Regions from separate parts of the Homo sapiens genome. Here region 1 is linked to region 2. Evidence: promoter capture Hi-C in human tissues and cell types (Jung and others, 2019). All regions are on one chromosome and are shown on one strand. The core of a region is centred on a gene start or on the middle of the fragment in contact, and the rest is flanking DNA. Distances in the headings are between cores, read along the strand shown. Region 1 overlaps ST6GALNAC3 (ST6 N-acetylgalactosaminide alpha-2,6-sialyltransferase 3). Region 2 holds the start of ZZZ3 (zinc finger ZZ-type containing 3).

The links. Contacts are between HindIII fragments. The study calls those that stand out against the background at their distance.
Region 1: a fragment that was not itself captured here is called in contact with the fragment with the promoter of ZZZ3 in region 2 in 1 of the 25 tissues and cell types used here (dorsolateral prefrontal cortex).

Annotation. Positions count from the first base shown.
Region 1 is chr1:76,319,136-76,325,910 of GRCh38, reverse strand. All of the region lies in intron 2 of ST6GALNAC3 (ST6 N-acetylgalactosaminide alpha-2,6-sialyltransferase 3), which reads right to left. Among named protein-coding and RNA genes, the nearest start is that of ST6GALNAC3, 250 kb to the right of the region's middle. The HindIII fragment of the contact is 4,951 bases long and covers 1,642-6,592 here.
Region 2 is chr1:77,681,300-77,688,457 of GRCh38, reverse strand. ZZZ3 (zinc finger ZZ-type containing 3) reads left to right here and starts at 5,800. Exons shown (of 15, transcript NM_015534.6): 1 at 5,800-5,873. RefSeq lists enhancers at 4,545-4,644, 4,074-4,847, 5,665-5,744 and silencers at 4,795-4,854, 4,865-5,284. The HindIII fragment of the contact is 15,193 bases long and covers 1,041-7,158 here.

The DNA of each region.
Region 1 (6,775 bases), core at 2,868-5,367, 1.4 Mb after region 2:
AAAAGAAGTAGGTCTAATACTACAAGCAACAATTATATAAAAATAGCATTTACCAAAAAAATGTTGATCAATGAAACAAAATAAAGAGCACAAAAAGACCAAATATATATATATATATTTGTGTGTATGTATACCAATGGTAGCAATAATATAATAATAATAGTAATAATAATTGTAAAAATAATTATTTGTGACAAGTACTAGATTGTCAGAGCTCACAGGACAATATTTTCAGCATGTCTACCATTCCGGGGGCATGCTGGAAATATTGTCCTGTGAGCTCTGGGAAAGATACCTGAAAGATAGCTAACTTTCTTCAATCCAATAAATATCATTAAACACTATTGGAAATAAATAGTTATTGGCAAAATACAACACCATACCAAGCCACCAAAAAGTTATTTACTTTCTACCTTTTCTTCCTAAGAATATCACAAATAATTTACCTTGCAAAAAACTTGGGCTGCATTGCAATAGAAAAAACTGTTATAGTGTGTAAGTATAGATGAAAGAGATTAGAAAGCCACACTGACTTGCACAGCTGTTCCTGGGGAATCTTTGAAGAACTTGTACTTCTTAAAGAGGACAGGAATTATTTCTAGAATACTCACTATTTCTCTGCCAAAATATTTATTGTATTAAATACAGAATATTAAAACAGTGATGTATTCACAATGCATGTATCTTATACATCCCTGCCCTATGGGGCTAGACTAGTATATTTCAAATTTTTTCAATTCACCTTCTCCTATGGTCTTCTCCATCTCAGTCAATGACAATTCCAACCTTCCAGATGCACAGGTCAAAAACCTAAATACCTTTTTTAAAAGCAAACCTTCCTGTATCCAAGTGTTCTCATTGTTCAATTCCCACCTATGAGTGAGTACATGCAGTGTTTGGCACATGTATACATATGTAACAAACCTGCACGTTGTGCACATGTACCCTAGAACTTAAAGTATAATAAAAATATATATATGTGAAAAATTAAAAAAATGAAAGTGCAATAATTAATAAAAAAAGCAAACCTTATATTTTGGAATAGTTTCAGATTTATTTAAAAATTGAGAAGATAGTTACCATATAGCCCACACTCAGTTTCTCCATTATCAACATCTCGTATAGTATAATACATTTGTTACAATTAATTATTATTAACTCAAGTCCATACTTTACTCATACTTAGTTTTGATCTAATGTCTTTTTTTCTGTTCAGGAGCCCATCCAGGATACCACATTGCATTTAGTTGTCATGTTTCCTTAGGACACTCTTGGCTGTGGGGGTTTCTCAGACTTTCCTCGTTTTTGATAACCTGAACAGTTTAGAGGAGTTGTCATCACGTGTTCTGTAGAACGGCCCCCAATATTTATTTGTCTGATATTTATCTCATGATTAAACAGGCTTATGGGATTTGGGGAAGATGGCCTCAGTGGTAAAGTGTCGGTTTCATCACATCATACCAAGGGTATATACTACCAACACCATTTGTCACTATTGATGTTAACCTTGATCACTTAGCTGAGATAGTGTTTGTCAGCCTTTCCACCACAGTTACTATTTATTCTCCTTTCCATATTGTAGTCCTATTAAGGGAGTCACTAGGAGAAACCCACATTTAAGGAATGGGAGAATATTCACTTTTTAAAGTATTCCAAACAATATATTTATCTAGACATTTTAAATCCTATTCTTTAAATGATAGTGAAAGTTCTAGAGTGTTTCACAGATATACATTGCTTAAAAAATACTTCTTCAACCGGGCATGGTGGCTCACACCTGTAATCCCAGCACTCTGGGAGGCCAAGGCGGGCGGATCAGGCTCAGGAGTTCGAGACCACCTTGGGCAACATGGTGAAACCATGTCTTTACTAAAACACAAAAATTAAGCCGGGCATGGTGGTGCACACCTGTTGTCCCAACTACTTGGGAGGCTGAGGCACGAGAATCACTTGAGCCTGGGAGGTAGAGGTCGTAGTCAGCCAAGGTCACACCACTGCACTCCAGCTTGGGCTATAGAATGAGACTCCATCTCAAAAAAAAAAAATTCTAGTAATAAATACAATATGTGCTCATTGTAGAAAATTTGGAAAACATGTTTTTTAAAAAAATTCTAAAATTTACAACCCAGATATAGACCATCACAGTTAATATTTTGAAGTATTATCTCCAAACTTTCTTTCTATGACTACATTTAAAGAGTTAAAATAATCTTTCACATGTTATTCTACCTTCTTTATTAGCCTTTAACATTATGAAAAAATTTTATTTATCCCTAGGCAAAAAGTGTTTTCTTTTTTACAATTTCAGAGCCTAGCACAGTGCGTTGCATGTAGTAAATTCAACAAATGGGATTCCATGAACTTACTGACTTCATGAATTGGCAGACACTCTGTGAAACCATTTAAAGGAATTTGTTGACTAGGATAGTCTTAGGTTCTTGTTTTGCCACACAGGACAATGAAAGACACTAGCATAGAATCAATACTTTGGGGGCCTTGAAAAATTAGTTAAATCAGTAAAATAGTATGTACTCTGTAAGAGCTAAAAGAAAATGGCACATAAAATACTTAACACAGTGACTGTCATTTAACCTAACCACTGAGGTATTACAATTTTATTTATTTATTTCTAGTCATTATATTCAATTATTTTTCAGAGATATTTTATTTTTGCTAGAACTTTGCTTCCCATGTATTTTATTCATTCTTAATCATTTTTATAGTCTGTGTTTGACACAGGCCTGCAATCCCTTATCTAAAATCATTTGAACCAGGTATACTTTGGGATTCATAAATGTTCATATTTGAAGAAGACAACAGAGCAAATACTCAAATACACATATTATGAAACACCACAGCAGGGTATTTCTAGAGGTAATTTTTGTATTTTTACAAAATACAAAATTTTTGGGCATGGTGGCAGGTGCCTGTAATCCCAGCTACTCGGGAGGCTGAGGCAGGAGAATCGCTTGAGCCGAGGAGGTGGAGGTTGCAGTGAGCCGAGATCGTGCCACTGAACTCCAGCCTAAGTGACAGAGCGAGACTCCATGTCAATAAATGAATAAATAAAGAATCCATTTATTAAATACTTGGCAAATGCCTATTAGTCAGATGACTCGGTTAACCAGACATACTATTTCCCAAACTTGTGGGGGGGTGGGGGGCAGTGGTGGATAACATTTGATATAAAAGCATATAGTTATTTTTGAAATGAAATATTCTGTAATGGCTATCTTTCTTTTGTGAATAAGGCTTTGTAAGGCTACTCTGAAAAATAAGAACTCACAATTTGATGCCATCTACTTAGTGACAAATTACCTTTTAGACATTAAATATAAGTGTTTAATTGAAATTACTTGAATGTTCACTATTCTTAAGAACAGTGAAATGAATTTCTTGTGTAAGATGGTTACTCAGCCATCATCATTACAGGCTGCAATGCAAACACCTTCTAGGTGGTATTGTTCCAGGATACTCCTAACTTGGGTCCATGTTGTTCTCTTCTTTGGTGAACCCCAATTTTAACACTTCTTTAAATTACAGTTCATTGCTGATCCTTAGCACAATGTCTGGAACAGAATAAGCACTTTTCAAAATATTTGGTATTTGGTTAATACCAATTGCCATTTGATGAAAGCTTTTCGCACTAGTCACTCTGCCAGGCCATCAGCTTGAGAAGAGCTATAGAAAAACTCTCTACATCAGGACATGAGTTCTATCATCTTTTTCAACCCTCAAATCAAGGTATTTGTGATAGATACACTGTTTTGTTTTCCTTTGCTTGTCACAAATGAGGTAATTTGATAGTTGAATTTCTAATAGGCCCCTTTCAAGTGCGTTAACAAGATAGTTGGCAAATGGGGACTTTTCTACCTAAGGCTCTGTAATAAATAAAACTGCGGTATATCTTCCTGAGGAACCGATCACTACATTAAAACCTATGATAATAATGGATTTTTCATCAATAAAAAATGTGATTTGTAAAGTGAAAATCAATCTAGTTTGACTGCTGATGCCTCACAGCAATAGAGAAATTTTCATCTAACAATTATAATGAAACTATATGATTTATCAGTTGAGTACGACTAGCAATTCAGGTAGTAGTCAGTCTTGTCCAGCCATTTTCTGGCATTATAACCTTGGGAAATTGACCTTCATTTTTCTACCACAAAAGGATAAGCTAGTTTACTAAGCAATATGCACCTAAGCAGAAAGATAGACAGCGTTCACCCCTTGCAGACACCTGCACTGACTGATGGATGTGACTTGTGTTTGGCCCCCCAGCAGGTTTGAGAGTGCAGATTTGGAAAGACTACTCCTCTCCTCCTTCAGATGGCACCTTGTTTAAAGATGAGTTACTGAACATTTGGTGGTGGTGGCTGTAAAATAACTACAATATATCAGCTAGGACTTTTTTGGTTGCAAGGGACAAAAACAGTTCAAACCAGCAAAAGTAAAAAGAAGACAAATATATTGGCTTATACACCCAAACCATGGGGGATGGGAGGGGAGGCTGCCTTCAAGAATTGAGCTCAGGACCTGAAGTGTTGTCTGGGTCTTCACATTAGCCTTGCAACTTGTTTCTGCTTCTCTCAGTGTCTTTGTCTCATTCTGTCTTGGGAACACAGCTACTGACATCCAGAGAATCACATCCCAACAGCTTTACCACCAGAGAAAAGGGGGCCTTTCCTGCCAGTGTGTCCCAGAAAAACATAATAAAATTTGAGAAGGCTTCAGAATGGCTCATCTTGGGCCATGAGCCCACCCCTCAACCAATCACTTGATTGACCAATCACTAGCCTGACTTTTCTGCTCACCCTTGTGGTCAAAAGGAAGGGCCACCTTCTCTAATAAAGGGAAGGTGGAGAGTAGACAACCGCAAAAGGCACACTATACACCTACCTGACTATATATATATATATATAATGTGTGTGTGTGTGTGTGTGTATATATATACCATTTTACACCATTTACACACCATTTTACATACCATTTTAATGTATAACATAGTATGTTGTATATATTCTATGTATGTTTGTATTTAAGTGGCTAGAACTTGATCTGTGAACATGTATGCATGTATATGCTGCATGCATGCATACATGTATGTATTTTCCATATACTTGTATATACTGATTCATAACTATGAATGTATATATATATTACATGTATGTATTACTCCTATGTCTAAATAGGAGTGTGGTCTTTCCATAATCCCACTCACATTCCCAGATCATAATTACCCAATGAATGCATTTTCTATCTTCTTCTATATTCCAGAGTAAGTTCCAGCCAGGTTGACCTATGTATTACCTGTACATGTGCCTGACTTCCTTCTCTGGAAGTCAGAGGATTGCAGAGGCCTGGGCAGTACTTCAGGGGCCCCTTGGAAATGGGGAGTTGTGTCCATGTCAGGGGTACACAGAGAGAAGCATTATTAGAAGTGACCCCCTACATAGTATGCAGGGCAGTAGGGCCAAGGTAAGAGCACTACAAGACTAGATAACCAGCCAAACAAAAAGAAGAGCCACACGATTAGGACTAAAGGTATTGAATCCAGAGAAAGGTATGAAATGGATCCACCAAGTGTGAGGCAATGACGATTACCAGCATAGACATTAGGGCTTTACTGTAGCTTTCCATATAGTGTCCTTGGCCTACTGGGAGTCATAGGGGCTGAAGGAAAATGCACAATACATATTCTGAACCTTTGCTTTTTTACCCAACTCTGCTTTGTCTTCTTCCTCTGTCCCATCCAAATCTTTCTCCAAAGCACATGTCTCACCTCTCCCACAAAAGCTTCCTGGAAATATTCTAACCCACAGTGGCATCTGTCCTTCTCATCTGGCACTCATAGATTGTCTGGAGATATGGTCATTGATTGAAAGTTGCTATTTCACAACCAGACTGAGAAACATAGTCATCTCTTCTCCACTCAAAAAATATATCCTTTCATACTTGAGAAAAATGATAAATTATCCTTAAAATGACAAATCCAATACACACATGTCAAATTCATTTGGGAGTAAGAGCATGGTACAGACATGCTGGTAGGGGTGGGGCTGTCAGAACAAAGGATGAAATCAATGAGGAGGGTGGTAAAAAGTCACAAAGTTTTGATTTATTATATGTTAATTTAGCTGTTTCCTTTTCTATAACATTTAATACTCAAATTTCATTTTGCTTTATGATTACATAAATGGGAATGTTCGGATTTTAATTAACAATTAAATGGATCAGTTTTAAACTTTTGGGACATACATTTGCACATAATTGCTCTCAATATACTTACGTAAAACCCAAAGCCTCTATTACCAAATATAGAAAACCTATTCATGTCAGCTTTAGTTACATGTGTACATTTATTTAAATGTGTGGAGTGTGTGCTTTTATCACCAAGAAAGTCAGCTCTCTTCCTTAATTGTTACTATAACCATAATTTGGGAAATTCTATTGCAACATCAATATGTTATGCACATCTTTAATTAGGCTAGTGTGGCCTGTCTGTCACAGCAACTGATCCTAAATATTCCTATTTAGTCTACTTGAGGTTTTAAAACGTTCTCATTTTTTAAAGAGGCATACTTCAGCCTCATTAAATTGTCGAGTAAGTCAGTATGCAGCCCTGCACTTGCTTCCTGTGTTCTGGCAATCTTGCACCTCTCCACTTGGCACATTTCAGGCACCCAGGGAAAGGGCACTCTTCCCCAAATACCAGAAATCCTCTGTAGCCCCAGCATCTTAAGGGGAAGATCCTATCAGGTCTAAGGAAGAC
Region 2 (7,158 bases), core at 4,551-7,050:
GTTTCTTTCAGGCAATAGTAAGTAGTAGTAGTAAATAAATAATAACTTCCATCCCATGTAGGGGGCTTTGCATCAACTGTTCTCTTTCTCTGGAGTGTTTTTCCCACCTTTGCCCAACTCCTAAATGCATTCACACTTTAGAAGTGGTGAATGCATACTTCATCTCAGATTGGATGTTGCTTCCTCAGAAGTACTTTAGAACATGTATGTACTTTTGGGTATATGGACATATTCTCATAGTGACCTGCGCTTTTTTTTTGTATATTCTCCAATTTAAAACTTTTAATTAAAAAGTAAACTTTAAGGCCGGGCGCGGTGGCTCACGCCTGTAATCTCAGCACTTTGGGAGGCCGAGGTGGGCGGATCACAAGGTCAGGAGATCGAGACCATCCTGACTAACACGGCGAAACCCCGCCTCTGCTAAAAATACAAAAAATTAGCCGGGCGTAGTGGCGGGTGGCTGTAGTCCCAGCTACTCGGGAGGCTGAGGCAGGAGAATGGCGTGAACCTGGGGGGCGGAGCTTGCAGTGACCCGAGATCGCGCCACTGCATTCCAGCCTGGGCGACAGAGCGATCCGTCTCAAAAAAAAAAGTAAACTTTAATGTCGAAAATGCAAACTTGGGGAGGGCAGAAAGAGCACGCACAAGGCTGTCACTTCACACTTGGAGGGTTGCACAGCGGCCAGCAGAGGCGCTCCTCACTTCCCAGATGGAAGGAGGGGTGGGGGGCGGGGCGGCCGGGCAGAGGCCCTCCTCACTTCCCCGACTTGCTCCTCACATTCCAGACGGTGTGGTGGCCGGGCAGAGGCCCTCCTCACTTCGCAGACGGGGTGGGGGCCGGGCAGATGTGCTCCTCACTTCCTAGACGGGGTGGGGGCCGGTCAGAGGCGCTCCTCACTTCCCAGATGGGGTGGGGGCCGAGCAGAGGCGCTCCTCACTTCCTAGACGGGGTGGGGGCCAGGCAGAAGCGCTCCTCACTTCCCAGACAATGGGGGGACTGGGCAGAGGCGCTCCTCACTTCCTAGAGGGGGTGGGGGCCAGGCAGAAGCGCTCCTCACTTCCCAGACGGTGCAGGCCGGGCAGATGGGCTCCTGACATCCCAGATGTCAGTGGCCGGGCAGTGGCGCTCCGAACTTCCCAGACAGTTGGGTGGCCAGGCAGAGGCGCTCCTCACTTTCCAGACGGGGCGGGAGCTGGGCAGAGGCGCTCCTCACTTGCCAGACAGTGGAGCAGCCAGGCAGAGGTGCTTCTCACTTCCCAGACGGTGGGGTGGCGGGGGGCGTGGGGGGGGGGTGGAGGGGGGAGGGCAGGGCAGAGGCGCTCCTCACTTCCCAGACGGTGGAGCAGCGGGGCAGAGGTGCTCTCACTTCCCAGATGGTGGAGCAGCGGGGCAGAGGTGCTCCTCACTTCCCAGACGGGATGGGGGCGGGGCAGAAGTGCTCCTCACTTCCCAGAAGGTGAGGCGGCGGGGCAGGGGTGCTCCTCACTTCCCAGACGGTGCGGGCCGGGCAGATGGGCTCCTGACATCCCAGATGGTGCAGTGGCCGGGCAGTGGCGCTCCTCACTTCCCAGACAGTTGGGCGGCCAGGCAGGAGGGCTCATCACTTTACAGACAGGGCGGCAGCTGGGCAGAGGCGCTTCTCACTTCCCAGACGGGTGACCTGCACTTTTCATGAATGGTACTAACCAGTTTGAATTTATGTGATTATATTTTAAATGTCAGCCTCCCTCCCTAGACTGTGAGCTCTGTCAGAGTAGGGCCTGTGCTTGCTTTGTTCACCACTGTATCTCTAGCACCTTGTATGGCACCTGGCATATTTGTTGAAAGAATGAACTACATCAATGATTTTCAAAGTGTGTTCTGAGGTAGCATCTTATGTGTCGTGGTAAGGGACTGAGGAAAATGTCAGCTGGTTGCCTCCTCCCAGGTCCTGTTTTATTTGGCTCAAATATTGGATCCTGGCATAAGAATATGAGTATACAAGAAATTTCCAGTGCTTCAGAAAATATTGTACAAACTGCTGAATTAGTTGATGTTAATGTATCTTCCATCTTCAATATAACGTGATCCTAGGTCAAAATAACAAAGGGGGCCAGGCGTGGTGGCTCACGCCTGTAATCCCAGTACTTTGGGAGGCTGAGGTGGGTGGAAGCTTGGGGCCAGGAGTTTTGAGACCAGCCTGGGCAACATGGCAAAACCTCATCTCTATAAAAAATACAAAAATTAACTGGGCACAGTGGTGCGTATCTCAGCTACAAGGGACACAGGAGGCTGCAGTGAGCCTAGACTGTGCCAGTGCACACCAGCTTGGGCGACAGAACGAGATCCTGTCTCCAAAAGAAAAAAAAAATAACAAAGGCCATGTAGGAATATACATGTCGTAATTAGGGAGTGGTATTTGCCAGCAAGGTTGGCAGTGGTTCCCTTTTCCAGGAGCAATGAAGCTTCTCTTTCCTACTCTTAATTGAGGATCTCAGGGGCTCCCATCCCTTTCCACTTGGCTAAGAGTTATTCTCAGGCCTAGAGTTTTTTCTTGGCTACCCTCTTTACCATCCATGAACTGCTTTCTCCTTATCCTGTAGGGATTACCCCAAAGACCCTACAGTCCAGCCATTTGGGGTTACTTGTAGTTTTCTCCCATTCACATACTCATTCATGCAGTTCCCTCATCCAAGAATTATTTTTTTCTTCTTAGCAAAGTCATCCTGTAACTTAAATGCCAATCCTTGTAAGAAGCCCTTCCCAGAAGCCCTCCTCCCCTCCCACAGTACTTTATGTATCTATATAGAAACTTCTGCAGTTCAAATGGGCAAGTTACTTGCTTTATCAATAGAAAAATACAAATAATATTACAGGCTCGGTTCCCAGGAAGCACACTCTTACATGACTAGTGTGCAGGAGATTTATTAGGGAATGCTCTTGGGATCATTACTTGTGGGAGGGAAGAAAAGCTGAACTGGGCAGAAGTTGGACTTCAGTGAAGTCTCAATGGAATGCCTTAGCTGATCCTGCAAGTTGTTCTGCAGGAGGAGAAAATCCATCAGAATTGTACCAAATGGAGGTGAGAGGGCTGAGCCTTTTATCCCTGCATTGATCAGTCACTGGATGTGGCCTCTCTGAGAACATTATGACTCTGTGACACTGGCATGCCTGAAAGGGGCTGACAACCGATGGCTGGCTGTGGGTATGACTCTTGGCAGCAGCAGCTCAGTTCTTTATTCCTGAAGTGGGGTCTGAAAAGTGCATCTCAAGGCCTACCACAAATAGTATATATCTCATAGGATTGTCAGAAGCCTAAAATAGGGTAACATAGAAAAGTACACAGCATTTGGCCTGGCACATAGGAATCAAAAGCATGCTAAGTATGGTTATTATAATAGGATTTGGCTCTATAAGTAGAAAGAGCAAGGTAGGGAAACGTGTTTATTTTTGTATCTCTAGTCTTAGCATAGGGCACTAGTATGTTTTATCTTTCCTTTTTTATTTTTGAGACAGTCTTGCTCTGTCGCCCAGGCTGGAGTGCAGTGGCACGATCTCGGCTCACTGCAACCTCCACCTCCCGGGTTCAAGCAATTCTCCTGCCTCAGCCTCCCAAGTAGCTGGGATTACATGGGATAACAGGCGTGTGCCACCACACCTGGCTAATTTTTCTATTTTTAGTAGAGACGAAGTTTCGCCATGTTGGCCAGACTGGTCTTTAACTCCTGACACCTCAGGTGATCTGCCTGTCAAGGCCTCCCAAAGTGGTGGGATTACAGGCTTGAGACACCGCGCCCGGCCTCCCCCACCCCCGTTTTTTTTTGACATACTGCCACCCAGAAACACTAGTATGTTCAATAAATACTTGATGTGTTAAAAACATGTAACCCTTTTTCTTGAAGTAGATGTTACTTTGAGTTGAACTCAAAGCTAAAATACAAAACACCATTTAAAACATTTAATAACTTTTATTAGCAACATAAAAGAAGGCACAACACGTATCCACTTGCCCGAAAAAAAAAATAGTGTTGCAAAGGAAAACAAAAGTAATGAAACAGCACTGGACAATTGTCAAAGAAGAGCCCCAGTTAACGGCTTCTACCACTGGATTTTATATTTTTGGAACATAATCTTTATAGCCACGGAAGGAGGTTTAGCTGTTTTTCCACAGCTCATAAATGATGAAGTTATTTATCTTCATTAATGTGTGTTGGGCTTTATTTTCCTACATGCTCAATATAGTTGGTAGATCTGTTTTGATATTACTGAGCACTGCTTTGTGCCAGACACAATTCTGGGGATACAGCAATGAGCAAAACAGTTTACTAAGTCCCTGCTTTTAAAAATTTTACATTTCTGGTGGTGAGGATACTGACAAATAAGGTCTGGAAGTTGTAACTGTTATGAAGAAATAAAAGCAGGTGAAGAGTTAAAGCAATGGTGCAGGTGTACTTTTTTTGGATACAGTGGTCTGGGCAGCCCTCTGAGAAGGGACCTGAAATATGCATCGAACATCGAGGAGTTAAAAAAAATCTGGAGGAAATGTTCTGCCAGAGAAATCGGCAAGCACAAAGGCCCGAAGTGGTTCGAGCCTGCGTGCTGTGGTACAAGCCAGAGGTGAACGAGGCGAGGCAGAAGCACGATCATAAATACATGTATGGATGTTCTCCTGGCTTGAGACCACAGTGCTAAGGGAGGTGGGGTTTACAAATCTCTCAGGAGGCCACAAAGGGCAGGATGAAGCCGATTTCCAATGGCGGAGCTACGAGGACGCCTTTCCTCTGCTAGGGCCAGGTTGGACGGTTGCAAGGGATGGACTGCAACCCGCCCTCGGAAGACCAAACTTCGCCCAGGGGCAGGGACTGGCCGGGGAGGGCCTCGGCGGCGCCCGACCCGCGGGCGCTGCACGGGCCGCGGTTACCAGCAGGCGGTGTAGTGAGCGCGCCTGCAGCAGCAGCAACAGCAGCAGCAGCGGTCGCCGCCGCCGCCGCCGCCCGCCAGTCCCAACGAGGAGAAAGGAGGGGACCGGAAGGAGCCGCTGGTGCTGCGGGAAGTGGCAGGAGCGGGAGGCGGGGACCCACCTGGAAGCGCCGCGGCGCCGCTATCGAGCTTCCTGCAGCGGTGGCCACCCGAGCAAGTGCCGTGGCGGGGGCGGAGAGCGGCCACGGCGGCGGCGCCTCCCCAAGTGGCCCGTTGCGTCCGACCCCGCGTGAAAGGTGAGCAAGAGCTCGGGACACGTGGTGAGGGCCAGACACGGGGGAGGGAGAATGAAGGGGGAGGGAATGGGGGTGGGAAACGATCGGCTTGGGACCCGGATTTGGAGCCAAGTACCGGGAGGGGGTGGGCTGGAGGCGACGACTGCGACGGCTGCGACGGCTGCGACGGCGAAGCCCCCACGTGGGGCGGGGGTGCGCGCGCACGTGTGCGCGGGCGAAAGGGGGGGCGGGGAGGGCTTTTGGGAGGGCGTCGGGAGCGCGCTCGCTCAGTAGCGGCCCACGTGACGGGCACGCCGAAAATGTTTCCACGTGACAGGGAGGCTGCCTGGGGCAGCGCACTGCGCTCTGTTTATGTAGTATAATCGTGGTAATCGGAGGTTTTTAAGATTTCTGCTTTTCTGTACAAGGGGAAAGGAGGAGACGTATAAAGCGGAAAGACTTCCTACTGTCTCAGTGTTTTAAATGTTCACTACTCCGTTAGTGAAGTGCTTTTTAAGTTCCGAAATACTGATTTTTTTCTGTACCGCCATGTTGGGTCTAGTGGAAGCTCGCGAGATGCGAGTGGGTTTGTATCGCGAGATCTCTCGATTCTCGCGGGACCTCGTTGGCAGAGCAGTTGTCCTGGATGGCGGAGCCTTGGGTTCCGGGGGCCTGGGACCTGCAACTCTTTCTACAAGGCAAGTCGTTAGGGAGGGGCCCGGGGCGAGTGCCTCTTGGTGCCGGGATACGTGCTGCATCAGCTTCCCATAGTCTTGAAGGGAATACAGTAACCCCATTGAGGCAACACTGCCCTCCCCATCCCCCTGCGGGCGCTCCACCACCTGCAAAAGCATATGCACCCCTCAGCCAGGTCCTTCTCCCCACGCAGTGATAGTTCCACCCTGTCCCACTCACTGGAAGTCCGGGAGCCGTGCTCGCGCAGACCTGATGATTCCATTGGATACCGTTCCTCTTACTTTAAGATGTTCTTGTCAGTTTTTCCCTTCTTGCCATTTTCTAAAGTATTCCAGACCGGTTAACTATTGTGTCGCGTTTTCTGCTGCAGTACCTGACTCCAGTCTCCTGAAACAGAACTCCTCCCATCTATTTTCTCTGGGTGTCATTTACTCATCACCCTGACTTCGTATTTTCAGTAACTTTTGGCAGTATTTGGAGGGCCCATTATGTCTCTGACAACACCTGTGGTCAGAATAAAATCCTGCTTTTCATCATTTTGTACGTGCCTATTAACTCAGTTATCGGTAGGGTTTTAATTACTACTGTGTTACTGAGGTTGCCATCTTTGAAGTTTAGGGATGGTTGTTTTAGGTTATATATTTAAGGTAACAGACTGTTTCATGTGATTTTTTTTTTTTTTTTTTTGAGACGGAGTCTCGCTCTTGTCGCCTAGGCTGGAGTGTAGTGGGGCGATCTCGGCTCATTGCAACCTCCGCCTCCCGGGTTCAAGCGATTCTCCTGCCTCAGCCTCTCGAGTATCGAGTAGCTGGGATTACAGTCGCGCTTCACCACGCCCGGCTAATTTTTGTGTTTTTAGTAGAGACGGGGTTTCACCATGTTGGCCAGGCTGGTCTCAAACTCCTGACCTCAAGTGATCCACCTGCCTTGGCCTCTCAAAGTGCTGGGATTTCAGCACTGTACAGGCGTGAGCCACCGCGCCCGGCCTCAGGTCAACTTTTTAGTAAAGAGCAAACTCATAAATTTTGGCATCAGAGTTTGAGCTTTATTTTTCTTAAATGAGTTTGAAATCAATTTAATATTTCTCTCCAATTCCCTAATGTCTCAGAAGTGAATTTACAGTATACCTTTGTTTTTTCGTATTCTTAAGTAGTATTTGGATTTTATTTAGTAGTTGCAGTACTAAATAAGGAGTGGGGAGTTAATTACAAAACGAATCAGGTGACTAGTTAATTTATTCATAGTTTGTTTTTTAAAACTACAAAAGTGTTTTTTTTTCCTATACAT